Regions from separate parts of the Homo sapiens genome. Here region 1 is linked to region 2. The links are contacts of gene promoters, found by promoter capture Hi-C in human tissues and cell types (Jung and others, 2019). All regions are on one chromosome and are shown on one strand. Each heading gives the region's core, a stretch centred on a gene start or on the middle of the fragment in contact. The rest is flanking DNA. Distances are from core to core; before and after follow the strand shown. Region 1 has its middle 11 kb from the start of LINC01574. Region 2 holds the start of UNC5A (unc-5 netrin receptor A).

Region 1 (7,416 bases), core at 3,528-6,027, 77 kb before region 2:
GGGCTGAAGGCCTGTCTCAGCATCTCCTTCCCTGTCCCCGGGCTCTGGCCACCCAGCCTCCTTTCCAGCCACTCCCACTGAGGGCCTCTGCCTCTGCGGCTTACCCAACCTGGAAGGTTCTCCCCGCAGACAGCTGTGTGCCGCTCTCCTCTTTCTTGAATCTCTGCTCACATCATCCTATCAATCAGAGAGGCCTCTTGGAGCCACCCCACAGAAGAGGGAAGCCGCTCCTTCCCCGGCCTCCCGCACCCCAGCCCCTTGGCCCAGCTTTGCCTGCTCAGCACACACCCCCACCTGGCGCCTTGAACAGCTGCTTAGTGCTTCTCTACTTCGCCTCCAATGCAACTGGCTATAAAACAGACCCCATGTCTGTTTTGTTCCCTGATGTCTCCCCAGTGCCTGGCCCCTAAGTAGGAGCTCTGGAAACACGTGCTGAATGAATGAGTGAATGAATGGTTGAATGTAAACATTTAAGTTATCCCGCAGTTTCTGTAACCCTATGGGGAATTTCTGGCATTTTTAACATATGAGACCCAAAACATGGTTTTACTGGAGAGTCTCCTTTCTCAAGAAGCTCCCAGCAGGAGCATGATGGTGGGTGGCTGAGTCCAGAGGTTCTGCCCACCCCAGGGAAGGAGGAAGACAGCACAGACATGCTCAGTGCCAGGGGGCAAGAATGTCCCCCCACAGAGAGGAGGCAGCTCGGTCTATGTCCCCGGGGGCTCAGAGCAATGCCCAACAGAAGTTCCGGTGCAGGGGAATCCCAACACAAAACCAACTCTTCATTGTGACACAGGCCATGAGGAGAATCTTCAGAAAGGGCATTTACAGGATGTGTGGGAGCTGTTAAGCTCACTTGAGGAAGGAAGAGTAAGGAAAGGAGAATGGTGCAGACACAAACACATGGGCAGAGTGTGCTGGGTGAATGGGCTTTCCTCCTCCTGGGACATCACAAGTTCTGTTTAAGAAAAGGGCAAAAGGGGCTGGGCACAGTGGCTCACACCTGTAATCCCAGCACTTTGGGAGGCCAAGGCAGGCAGATCACTTGAGGCCAGGAGTTAGGGACCAGCCTGGCTGACATGGCAAAACCTCGTCTCTACTAAAAATACAAAAATTAGCTGGGCATGGTGGTGGTGCACCTGTAATCCCAGCTACTCGGGAGGCTGAGGCAGGAGGATCCCTTGAACCAGAGAGGCAGAGGTTGCAGTGAGCCGAGATTGCGCCACTGCACTCCAACCCGGGCGACAGAGCGAGACTCTGTCTAAAGAAAGAAAGAAAGAGAAAAGGGCAAAAAGTTGGCAAACACTGGATTAAACAAAGTTAGATTGATTTTGTCACTGCAGGACTCACCAGAGCCTTTAATGGGGTATAGCGTGCCCCATTTCCCAAACTGATTTGTTTCATGGAGGATGTGGAGAGCTCAGAGGGCCATCTAGACCACCTTGGGAATTAGGAATTACTGACAAGAGCAGAGGGGCACATGGCAGCCAGGGATGGGGGTGGGGGACAGGGGGGATACGACTGAAAAATGAAGCTGGGGTCCATTTGTAAACTCTTTGAATGCCCTGCATTCAGGAAAGGGCTGCTATAGCTGAGCACTGCACAGCTGCCGGGAACACCAACCCCAGAAAATACAACCTGAATGGTGGCTCCTGGAGCTGTGCAGTGCACACTCTGAACATCTGTCCATAGCAGCATGCCCAGAGGTGGGCAAGGCTCATTCGGCCCCAGTGAATTGCTGCCAAGTGGGAAGATGCTATAGACTAGTGCCCACCAGTATTGAAACTGGTAAAACTAGTGGTCACAGAAGACTGTACTTCTCAGCCCTTGGGGTGTGGATGGGCCACATGACTAGTTTCAGTCAATGACAAGTGAGCAGAAGTCAGGCGATGTCACATGCTGAAGCCGTGCAATGTCCCTGTGCTCTTCTTCTGTTTCTTCTTTCCCAGAAGCAGCAACTGACAAGGTCATGTGTCTCAGATGCCACTTAAAAATGGTGGTGCCTCCATCAGCCTGGTTCCCTAAGTGACTGTGTGGAGCAGAGTGCCCTGGCTACCTGCACTGAATATGTGGTGCTCATAAGAAATAAAGACCTGCGTGGTAAGCTCCTGTGACTTGGAGGTGCTTGTTACTGCAGCATAGCTCAGCCTGTCCTGACCTACACAGAAATAGAGGTAAATGTTGTCCTGACTTGTGATTTTGAAAAGAAATCTTCTGGTGTTAAATGTTGGAGACAGGATAAAAATACAACCAATATAGCGCAGACCAAGCAGAATCCCTCTGCAGGAGAGGCGTGGCCCACGGGCCACTGGTTTGCAGCCTACCCACCATCGCAGGCTCAGCTGTAGGGCCTCAGAGGACCGTACATAGAACGTGAGCTAACTCATTTTTCTGTACTTTCCCATGCAATCTCAGATCTACTTGTGGGCGTACCGGGACAGAATGAGACTCTCTGCTCTATGATTAACTGGAAGAGATTGCCTGGTTACAAACAGAGAAAAAGAAGGCAATTCTGTGGCTCTTTTAGAAGCTGCTGAAAAGCAGTATTTGGGCATTTGAACGCCTGTGGGCCAGCAGCTATGAGACGAGGGCTGAATCCGACTTCAGGATGCAGGAAACGGGGTTAGGAACTCATGGTTCAAATTCCAGCTCTGCTATTTGGTGTGTCACCTTGGGCATGTCACCTCACCTCTCTGAGCCCATTTCCTTGTTGGGAGGTTGGGGATCATCATAGAAACCACTTCTCAGGATGTTGACAGGAGCGAGGGAGGTGTGTGGCCAGTCAGGTGGTTCCTAGTCTCCTGGGGCATCCCTGCCTGCACGGAGAAGGCTCATCCAGGGAAGGGGCCAGGATGGGCCTGAGACCCAGGTTCCCCGGGGCCAGTCAGTTACAGTCTGGCTGTATTCGTTTCCTGTGGCTGCTGTCACAAATTCCCACAAGTGTGGTGACTTTTTTTTTTTTCCATTTTTAAATATTGTGGTTAAAAAAAGCCCATGTAACATGAAATGTACCCTGCCAGCCATTTGTAAGTGTATAGTGTGCTGCTAAGTATCTTCATATTGTGCAACAGATCCCCAGAACCTTTCATCTTGCAGAGCTGAAACTCGGTATCTTGGTGACTTTTTAAACAACACAAATTTATTCTCTTACAGCTCTGGAAGCCAGAAGTCCAAAATCATTGTCACTGGGCTAAAGTCAAGGTGTTGGCAGGTTGGCTCCTGCTGGAGGTTGGAGGGAGGATCCATTTCCCGGACTTCTGTAGCTTCCGGAGCTGCCTGCATTCTTCGGCAGAATTCCACTTCCTTACATCACTCCAACCTCTTGCTTCTGTTGTCACAGCTCCCACTTCTGGTGTCAAATCTCCCCCTGCCTCCCGATTATAAGGACACTTGTGATTACATTTAGGGCCCACCCAGATAACCCAGGATAACCCTCCCTTCTCAATCGCATATGCGAAGTCCCCTTTGCCAGGAATTGGGACTTGCGTGTCTTTGGGGGCCGCTCTTCGCCTAACACCCTGGCTACGGTGGTCCGCTCTGGGCCCGAGGTGCCTTTGCTGGCAGCCAGGACAAGCAGGGTCCCAGAGGAAAATGCCAAGTGGGGGCCCATGGAGTAGCAGGACTTGGGGACAAGCCCGATTCTGTCCCCTGATCTGGCTCTCACCGTCTGGAAACATACAGGCGCCTTGCTCTGGTCCTTCCTCGTCCTCTGCAAGGCAGGCTCCTTCCTGCACCCCTCCACTTCCTCAGGTGACGGTATCCACCCCAGGACCATTCATGGAACTAACAAAGCACTGGACATACAGACAAAAACTGCTTCTTTCCTGAAGCTCCCATCCTAGTGAGGGAGAGTGAAGAAGCCGGGTACGTGATGTGGGAGGCAGTGAAGCGCGCTAAGGAGAGCAAGCGGGGACGGGGAGAGGAGGGCAGGGCAGGCCCGGGCTGTGAAGATTCAGCCCACACACATTTATCAAGCACCTACCAGGTTCCGGGGCCTGGGACACAGCTGAGAATGAGACAGACCCAGCCCCTATCCCAGAGGATCACCTGTTTTAGCGGGGGGATGAAGCCGATGAGGAAATGAATGGGGCACGTGCAGAAGGCAGTGAGGCTGGGAGGAACCACAGCGGTGCCCTGGGCTCAGGAGTGATGGAGCTGCTTCAGATGGGGCGGTCAAGGAGGACCTCTCGGAGGAGGTGATTGGGGACTGAGGGAGACGGCTCCAAGTGGAGGGGACAGCAACTGCAACGTGGGGGTGATGCAGCTCAATAGCCATGCGTGTCTGGGTGGCAGGAGCTCAGAAAAGCGTGTTGGCGGCAGTAAGGATGGAGGGGGATTGTCCTGGGATGGGGCTTCCCGTCCCACCTGCTGTGCCTGGGCTTTTAAGCCAGCAGTGAAGACACCTGAGACAGACCCAAGAGAAAGGCCTGCCCACACCTGGTGGCCACTCCAGACAGAATGAGGACAGGGCCCAGCACAGGTGGAATGGCCCAGGCCGGAGGAGCCCCTCTCAAGGAGGAGCCTGCCTTGTCCCCCACTCCTGCGCGGAGCCCTGTTCCCTCACGCGGGCTGGCTTCTTTAACGAGACCATCTGTCTGGCTTTCCTCACTCGGCTGAGCCTGCTGGTGCCATCCATCTCCCCCAGCCCCATCTCCCGTCCGTCTGTCACCGCTCGGCCCCCACCATCCCTGCCCAGCTCTGAGGGGGCCTCAGCAGGTCTGGCCTTCGTGTTTACTCTTCTCATCTGGCCACATCTGGCCCCCGTGCTGAGTCACCCTCTCCATCTGCCTGTCCTCCCTGTTGGACGGTGGCCGTCTCCTTCCTGGCTCTTTCGGAGCCACGTGGCAGCCCACGCGTGGAGCGGGTGCCAGAGCCGGCACACGCGTGGGGATGTGACTGTGAGCGGCTTGGTGCCAGCCTGCATCCCAGGAGGGGCCCCTCAAGGACAGCCCCACTGGAGGCCTCCCCCGCGGCCTTGGAGGGTCCGGTGGTCCACTGGACGAGTCTCAAAGAAACCAAAGAGACTCAGAGAGACAAAGGCCACAGCCAGGCTGAGGCAGAAACGGAGATGCCTGGTATCAAGGCTGGGTATGAACCCAGCTCTGCTGGATGCCAGAGCCTTTCAATTCTGCATCTGAGCGTGGAAGTAGGAAGAGTGTGGGCATTTCAGAAGGGTGTGGGGGCGGGAGGCAGCCTGGGAGCAAACAAGAGTCACAAGCCCGGGGTCCGAGGCCCTGCAGGGCTGGACCCAGAGCTCTGAATCTGGGTAGGTTACTTAGCCTTTCCCAGCCTGACTTCCTGCACATATTTTGAAAATTAAACCAGTTGCACTGAGGTAGTACAATACCATCACCTACCCCTCAGGCCAGCCTGGAATAGCACCCCTTCCTCTGACAACAGCATCCCAAATTTTCCTTAAGCCCCTTCTCAATCCCTGAGATTTGGGAAGGGCTGACAGGAGAAGACATGTGACCAAAGATGAGACAATCCAAGCACTGCAAACTCAGCCCCACCCCCACTTCAGTGCTTGGCTTGGGGTCAGGTGGGTGCCAAGCTGGGCTAGTCAGGGCCAGAACCTTTGCTGAACTTAGCTCCCCTCCCCTCCCCTCCCCTCCCCTCCCCTCCATTGCCCGCCACCCCACTCCCTTTTCCTTTCTTTCTTTCTTTCTTTCTTTCTTTTTTTTTTTTTTTTGAGACGGAGTCCAGCTCTGTCGCCCAGGCTGGAGTGCAGTGGCGTGTTCCCAACTCACTGCAACCTCCACCTCCCAGGTTCAAATAATTCCCCTGCCTCAGCCTCCCAAGTAGCTGGGATTACAGGCGCCCGCCTCCACGCCCAGCTAATTTTGGTATTTTTAGTGGGGATGGGCCACTGTGATGGCCAAGCTGGTCTCAAACTCCCGACCTCGTGATCCTCCCACCTCGGCCTCCCAAAGTGGTGGGATTACGAGCGTGAGCCGCCACACCCAGCCCCTTTTTTAAATTTTTTTTGAGACAGGGTCTCACTCTGTTGCACAGGCTGGAGTGCAGTGGTGCAACCACAGTTCCCTGCAGCCTCAAACTCCTGGGCTCAAGTGATCCTCCTGCCTCAGCCTCCCAAAGTGCGGGGATTACAGGCATACTCTGCCACGCCCAGCGTGCTGGAACTTTTCTAAGGAAGGGGTGCTCCTTGCTCACTGTGAGAGTGAGCAGGCTATGAGCTAGAGCTACTGGTGGCTGCCATGTGGTGAGAGCCCGCCTGTGAGGAAAACCAGCAGAGAGGAGAGCAGAGCCAAAGCACGGAGAATAAGAGCAGTCCTAACAAGCCCCTGGATCCAGCTGGGCCTGAAGCCAGCTCCACTTCTGGACTTTTCAGTAATCGATGCCAATACATTGCCTTTTATAACAGAGCCTGAGTTGGGTTCTGTCATTTGCAATCAAGGAGTTGTATGTGCTGTATTCCTGAAAGGGACAAATATGTGCCTGATACACAGTAGGCTCTCAATACATGCTGAAGATAAGGATAAGACCTTTGTGAGAACAGCCAGTCTCAAAACATATTCTATGATTTCCTGGGCATAACACTCCACACACGGCAGAATTATAGAGATGGCAAGCAGGCTGGTGGCTGCTGGGAGCTAGGGCTGGTGGAGGGTGGAGGTGGGTGTGACATCTTCACGGGGATGGAACAGGTCTAGATCTTGAGTGCTGTGGTGGCTTCATGATCTCCACATGTGACAAAATGACGTAGAGCCGTATGCATACCCTGTGCCAATGTGGGTTTCCTGGTCTGGTATTGTACTAGAGTTATGTAAGATAGAACCACTGGGAGAAACCCAGTGCAGGGTACACGGCACCTCTCTGTACTATTTTTGCAAGTTCCTGTGAATCTGTAATAATTTCAAAACAAAAAGTTACAAAGAAGAAGTTCTTTGTAGGCGTACCACCCAGCAGCTCTTGGACCCCAAAAGGCAAATCATGGGCATTGAAATCAGATGGACCAGAGCTCAAATCTCAGCATGGCTGTTCACCTGCTAAGTGGCCTTGGGTCAGTCACGTCTCTTCTCCTACCCTCAGCGTTCTCATCCGTGGAGTGGGGCTCACTGGGGCTTATGGGCCCGCCCCATGGGGTGGTGATGACAGAGGATACAGTCAAGACCGTGCTCTGTCTCGCTCAGGACCTGGCTGTGGGAGGCGATAAGCTTCAGCAGCAGGCCATCAATACAGGGCTTGGCAGGGGGCCTTGCGCGGACCTGGCAAGGTCTTGGGTTCTGAGCCAGCTTCCCTGGGCTTGAGTCCTGGCTCTGCTGCTCCCTGCCTGGGTGACCTAGGGTAGACTACTTGACCTCTCCGGCCCTCAGTGTTTCCATCTGTACAATGGAGATAATCATAGTGCTGATCATGTATGTGACTTTTGAGGATTATTTTTTGTAGAGACAG
Region 2 (7,011 bases), core at 745-3,244:
ACCTCAGCCTCCCAAAGTGCTGGGATTACGGTGTGACCCACCACACCCGGCCATCCCTTTAGACAGAGCATACACTATTATAATGTCATCTTATACCCCAGCCCTCAATCCTCTTCCTTCATCCTCAGCCACCAGCCTCCAGTGCCCAATCCCCAGTGGGCCCCAAGGGCAGATCCTGCCACTGACTCTCCTCTCCCACCCACCTCTTTCCTGCAGAGGCTGAAGAGGGGTGTTATGGTGCCAACAGGAGCAGCCTGGGCACACACTGCTCCTACACACACACACACACACACACACACACACACACACGAGACATGTGAGTTGATCAGGCCCTGACACCGTGTACATTCAAACTGCCCCGAAAGCAAAGTTCCCAAACCAGAAGGTGGTGAACACTTTCCCCTGGGCTCACATGAAGTCTAAAAAATTATTTTTTACTAGTTAAAAATTTTAAATCAGAATATTTCACATACGACGGCTTCTGTTGAAAATTTGGAAGATGCGGCTATACTGTGCCCCGGTCCCCTCCCCCGACAACCAGCACCTGGAGCAGAAAAGGCAGCTGCCCCTTGAGATGGGATCCTTGTGCCTGTCCCCAGCACTGCCCTTTGCCTCCCTGGCGATGGAGCCCAGCGTCTGTATGGTTGCCTCTGGAGCTTTAGCTGGTGTTTTTTATAGTAGACTTAAGAGGAAAGCAAAACATTTTTCATAACCCTTCTCTATCAAAAGTGGGAAACAAAAGACAGACCGAGAGAGGGCCTCGTGTCTCAAGAAATATAGGAGAGCTCATATCTCTTTGTGGAAGCAAGACCATCCCTTACATCGCCTAGCCTGCAGCGCCAATTTATATTATCGACCGGCCCCGTAGGCGTTTGAGTTTGCGACCCTGCCCTCACCCTGCTCATTCCCCTCCCGACCCAGACTAGGACCCTCTCTTTTTCCGATCACTCCCCCCAGGCACACCGCACGCGGCTGTCATTTCCTTTCTCCTTCAAGGCAGCCCTCTGTTTATTTTAACCCGATTAGGGAATGGGGGTGGGGCACAGGAGACTCCAGCAGCGGTCACTGCTGGAGGCTCCAGGAGACGACGTGACTTGACCAAGGTCACAGAGCTGGAAGGTGAAGTCGCCTGGACCCTACCCCCGGTCTCCCTAGCTGCCAAAGCCCAGCTCGTTCCTTTACACCCACGTCGCGGGCGCCGTGCGCTCTCGGGGCTCAAACACCGCGCGCCCAGTCGGGTGTGCTGCGCCTGAAGGTTGTTTTCCTTCGGCGAACGGCGCCGAGGGGTTAGGGAAACCTTGGGTCATGGTGTGAGGCGCGCCCCTGGAATCCACCAGCCTGCGAGGCTGGGACTGCGGGTGTCCCCGAGTCTGGCCTGCCAGCTCTGGTGGCCAGGGCACCTCTGCGCGCGGGCCAGGGCCCCGGGGCTCTCCCGCAGTCCCCTAACCAAGCCGCGGGCTGGCAGCGTACCGCGGCGCCCGGACGACCCCGGAGCGCGGCCGCGAGGAAAGGGCGGGGGAGAGGACTGCAGCGGAACCTGCCCGGGGCACCCCTGCCCTGGGCGGCTCTCCGCAGGCTGGCGCCGCGCCGGGGTCGCCGCAGCCCCGGGCCCCTCCCGGGCCACCTGTGCGCAGACTGGCGGGCCCGCGAGAGCCCGGATCCGGAGCACCGATCCACTCCGGGTTTCAGACTCCTGCCCCTGTCCCTGGAGACCCCGCGGGGCGGTGGGAGGCCTCCACGCCCACCACCCCAAGCCCCTCCCTGGGGGAGCCTCAGGCATCGCCCAGAGGGATTCCCGGTGCTGGGGGTGGCCCGCGCGCGCTGCGCGGGGCGGCCCGGCCCCTCCTTCCTTCCCCCGCCCCTCCCAGCCGCCGCCCCGCTCCGTCGCTCCAGTCCGGGTTTTGCGGCGCCCACCGGCCCGCTCTCCGGCTGCGGGCTCCGCGGCGCGGCTGGCTCGGTGCGCGGCGCGGCTGGCGCTGCGCTCCGCCCCGGCTGCATTGCTGCGCTCCCGTGCCCAAGGGAGCCACGCGCCGCGTGCGCCCGGCAGCCGGCCGCCCGGAGGCAGCGCAGTCCGCTGGCATGGGCCCCGGGGGCGCCCCGAGCTGGGGCTCCGGGCTGAGGCGCTAAAGCCGCCCTCCCGCCCGCGGGGCCCCGCGCCCGGCCCGCCCGCCTGCCCGCCCGCGGCCATGGCCGTCCGGCCCGGCCTGTGGCCAGCGCTCCTGGGCATAGTCCTCGCCGCTTGGCTCCGCGGCTCGGGTGAGTCACGCCGCGCGCGCTCTGGGGAGGCTTGCGGGGGACCGTGCGCGCGAACGCTCGCTGCTCTGGGGGTCCCTGACCAGCGCTGCCAGACCCGGCTGGGAGCCCCCCGAGGCCAAACTTTGCGAGGCGGGACGCGGGGGGCTCTTCTTGCTGCTGCGCAGCTTCCCCGCGCGCTCTCCCGGAAGCCTGGGTTCTGCCAAGTCCAGGAGCAGCTGTCAGCCCGCGGGGCTGGCGAGTGTAGACACCCCACGCCTCCGGGTGGGGGAAGTTTGCTGGTTGCCTGGGCCCGGAGCAGGGCTGGGGGTTTGGATCAACCCCAGGGAGCCTGACTTTGAGGATTCGAAGATTAGAGGGTTTTGAGCCTATCCCAGTGCCCAGGAAATGGGGGGTGCGGGGAACGTTTAAGATACCTCTTCCCGGTAGCATCTGCCCTAAACAGCCACTCACAATCTCCCAGCTTGGCACCTGGCCTCTGCCCACGTCCAGAACACAGTGTCCTCCTCTGTCCCCGCCACACACGCTCTCACACGCACACACTCAGGCGTGGAGGCGCATACACCAGCCCCCAGTCCTTGCAGCCAGCACAGTCAAAGCGCCGCGGTCCCGGTGGCCGGGGCTGTGGCTCCTGGCCTCCCTGGTGCGGGGGGCCAGAGTTGTGTGTGGTTGGTCCGCCAGTTTCCCCTTCTTCCTTAAACTCCATAGCCTTTCTTGGCCCCTGCATGCCCCATTGGTCACCCTAACCCACTGCTAACTCAGCCCTCAGCCCACCTCATTCCCTTGGGAGGGGCTTGGGGGGAGGAAGTTCCCCTGCATCCTTTGTCTGCTGTCCCTGAGCCTTCACCTAGGCTGAGCTGTGGGGGCCTCCTGATCTCTGCCCCCCATGCACTTAGCTGAGTTGAGCGTATGTGTCTGTGGTGGTGGGGGGTGGGTGCCATTTGTGTGGTCAAGGGGGCTTGAGGCTTACCCTGGCAATTCTCGATTCTTGCTGCCCCTAGAACCTGGGCGGTTACTCCCCAGCCTGGCCAGGCCGCTGCTTATAACAGGGGTGTTGGAAGGGAGCACTGGGGTTTCTGAGCTGCCAAACCAGATTGATCAGAGATCAATGAGTGGGAGCTCAGGAGCCAGCCTGATGATTGAGGCCGATGGCTGTTTCCTTAAAGGGTGTCTCTGCGCAGCGCATCCTGCACCCACCACTGCCTGACCGCCCGCCCCATCCTGCCTCCTCAGTACCCCTCTCTACTCCATCCCACCCCTTCTATCTCCCTTCTCCATCAGCACCCCTCTTCTTCCCCAGGGCCTCTCCTTCTAATCCTGACCAAGCTGAGAGGCTGAACTGCTGTTGGGTGTGTGTCCGTGTCCGCCACATGTGTGTGTTAGGGGCGTGTGTGCAGCTCCGCAGATGAGCACCCGGGTGCAGGTTGCACTGTTGTCCATGATGAGGTGGGGATATTAGTGCCCCACACACAGGTGGGGTGTTGCCTGACACCCAGTAGGTACCCTGGAAATGTTTTCTGAGTTGATGCTTTTGAGGGCTGTGTGGTCATAGCTGCATGTCGCCCACGTGAGCACGTGTGAAGGCTGTGGGTTGACATGTGTGCCCGGGTAACCAGGGGGGTTGGCATGGTGTGTGCAGCATTGGCATGTGTGTGCCCTGATGAACGTGTGTGATGACCAGCATGCCGCACGTGTGTGACGGCTGTGTGCAGTTGCACAGGTGAGCGTGTACAGATAAGGGGGCACAGGTACCGGTGAAGCAGGGTGCTGCGGCCTGGAGCGGGGGGTTGCCACAGGGACTCCTCAGGAGGCTGTGGGGGTGGGGAAACTGCATCCCTGGTTGGCAGGGCATCTGTTGAGGCCTGGCCCAAGGTTGCCCAGGGAGTCGGCAGGTGGGCACAGGTGCTGCAGGGGCTGACGCAGAGCCTGCCCCAAGGCATCAACTCTGCCCCTGGGCCTGCGGGAGGAGCTGCTGAAGGCCATGGGGTGGGGAGGGGCTGGCCCTACTTCTTTGGGACTCCCTTCCCCCTGTGCCCCACAGGCACTGGGCACATGTGGACGCCCAGGCAGGCTGGCCCTGCCGTGACCCGGGCTCCTCCCGCGCTGCCTTTTGCCTCCGTTGCAACAGCCTCCGGTGAAAAATGTGTCTGTGAGCCGCTGAGGGAGGGATGGCCAGCGGGCAGCAGGGGGCGCCGGGGGCCAGCGCGACTGACTGCAGCCGCTTGCTCCCCAGGCCACGCGCCCACCCTCTGTTGCTGGACATCACACAAAAGCCTGTCCCTTCAGCATGCTCGCACCTGCAGGCCCTCTCTGTGCCCGCGCACGCAAGCACCCATCTGTCTCACAGGATTTTCCCTCTCAAACCCCGTCACGCAGCTGGCATGCAAACCCCCACCCTGCCCCTGTGGTCTCCCTGTCACCCAGACCTCTGCAGTCTTGAGCAGGAGGGACTTGGGAGCTGGCTCCCTTGAAGATGGGGCTGAGGGGTGCCATGCTCTGGCATTGCTGCATTGCCCAACCTGACCCCAACCATCTAGCCTGGCTCCTCCTTCTCAGACCCCATCCCCATACTTAGGGCTAACCTAGGACTCGTCTGTCCACCCCGACACTTGGGAGAATGCAGCTGGCTGAGGGGGTCTTAATCCTCCAGGGCTAGGAGATACCCTGTTCCTGCTCGCCCTGCCTTGCAGGTGGGGTGGCCTGGGCTTTGGGGCCCCTAGGTCCTCCCAGGGGAGAGCTGGTCCTCTTGCTGCCTGCCTGCTCCCCACTTGCCTGTGTTGGGAGGGGGGGCTTCTCTCAGGAACCAGGGATAGGCATTGATCCAGGTACCAAGCCCACACCAGAAGTCACGGCCCTCGTTCCCAGGAGCAGCCAACTTTGGCCTCAGCCAAGGGCCAGAGAGCCCCTGTCCTCACGACCCTTCTTCCTGCCTAGTGCTGCTCTGGGCCCAGACCCGCAGGCTGGAGCTCCGAGGCTTCACAAGGCAGGAGCCTGCCCTGAGCTTGGGGTGGGGCTCCCCTGCTCTAGTGCTGGGCCTAGCTGCCACTTGGGAATCTGTGTGTCCACGCATATGCATGCGGGGCCTCCTGTTCTAGGCCACCCCTCTCCCAATGCCCCCTCCTCCCAAGGGCCCTGCCGTCCCCTCCTCCTATTCTCCCAGCCTGGGGCTGGAAGCCTTAGCGTCTCCCTTGCTTCTCCCTTCTCTCTCACGCTTCACATCTAATATGTCACCAAGTCCTCCAGCTCGGGCCTACTTGTGGCATTGCTCATGTCTCTCGACTTCTTTGTCTTCCTCCACTCCTTTCTCCCTCACCTGCAGCAGCCACCACCACCCATCCCCCTCGGGCCTCCTCCACTCAGACTAAGGCATCCCCTGGCATCCAGGCTGGAAATCTGCTAGAAAGCTTTCGGTGACTCCCAGTGCCTGCAGGTCAACCCAAACCTTGAGCCCCCTTGGGCCCTTAGGAAAATACCTTCCTCCCTCGTCATCGCCCCACATCAGCTCTGGGCTGGTCTATCTGGAGGTCGGGTGCCCTCCCTGGCTCTGACTGCTGGTGGGGTGGGCACCCCCAGGCAAGCTCCGGCTTCCAGACTGTAGCTCCTTTGCCTTGCAAAGCGTGGTGCCACTGACCCCGCCAGCATGCTCCCCACCCAACACCCCAACGTTGGCTCTGTCCAGACCTGGGACACACCCCTTTGCTGCTGCCAATCCCTGCACTGTGAAACCCGCAGCTTCAGTCCAGCCCCTCCCAAAGGCCTCCCACCTCCTCCCCTGCAAAGGGGTCCTGGCATACTGATGTGCTTTGGGTGGGCTAAAGAAAGACTGAGGTATTGAGTCCTCAGCCCTGGGGCTGCCAGAAGCCTCTGACCTGAGCCTCCTCCTTCTCCTCCAGTGCCTCCCTCAGGTATTGCCATTGTTTATGGCGCGGTGACCCTGTTCTCTGGCCCAACTTGCTCTGAGTCACTGCCAGCCAGGTGCTGTTTTTCTTCATTTCTCCATTTTGAGTTTGGGCTCTCTTTGCAGGCAGGGAGGGCTGCTATTGCTGGGGACAGGGAGAGATGTTTGCTCTGCCCCTCTCAGCAACCATCCCATCCCTGTCCCTGAACACGGACTGCCATGCTCCAGGGAAGCTGGAAACGGCCTCCTGTCCAGGGTGGGGACCAGGAAAACTAGGCCCCATCCTGGGGTGGAGGATGCTGTGCCCCAGCCACGTGTATGGACAGCAAACCAGCTCACATTGGTGCATGCTTGTGGGCCACTCACGCAAGTTGTATGCCCATGTCTGTTGAGTAGGAACCCCCATCCCCACCCTGGCATGGATTTTCCCAGAGTGAATGTTTTCTTGAGCAAATGGTGTCATTCACAGAGTCACGTCAAGACGTGGGCTGCTCTGCACAGCTCCTACGTGGGGTGGGACTCCTGGTTCCTGAGGCTGAGCCCCAGGGCCCAACCACGCTCAGACAGGAGCTCAGCTTCCTGCAATCAGTTCCACCAGCCCACCCCTTCGTTCCTTGTCTGCTCCTGTGGGAGTGGCATTGAAGGGTCCTCCTGCCTTCTGGGGAGTCTCACCCCGTATTCTTGCCAGGTGAAGCAGAAAGGACAGGCTAAGCTTTGGAGGCAGTCAGGGTCAACTTCCAACCCAAGCCTCGTGTCCTTGGACAAGCAACTTGCAGTCCCCAGCCTGTTTCCACATTGATAGAATGGGTCATGCTTGCTTTCTGGGGTTATAGTAACAGATTGATGGGCAATGTGGAGAG

The links. Contacts are between HindIII fragments. The study calls those that stand out against the background at their distance.
Region 1: a contact is called between a fragment that was not itself captured here and the fragment with the promoter of UNC5A in region 2, in 2 of the 25 tissues and cell types used here (dorsolateral prefrontal cortex and spleen).

The regions. Positions count from the first base shown.
Region 1 is chr5:176,728,896-176,736,311 of GRCh38, forward strand. No RefSeq gene overlaps it. Among named protein-coding and RNA genes, the nearest start is that of LINC01574, 11 kb to the right of the region's middle. RefSeq lists enhancers at 3,464-4,394, 4,395-5,324. The HindIII fragment of the contact is 7,840 bases long and covers 858-7,416 here.
Region 2 is chr5:176,808,565-176,815,575 of GRCh38, forward strand. It overlaps UNC5A (unc-5 netrin receptor A), which reads left to right and starts at 1,995. Exons shown (of 15, transcript NM_133369.3): 1 at 1,995-2,256. The coding sequence starts at 2,187. The HindIII fragment of the contact is 11,668 bases long and covers 1-6,260 here.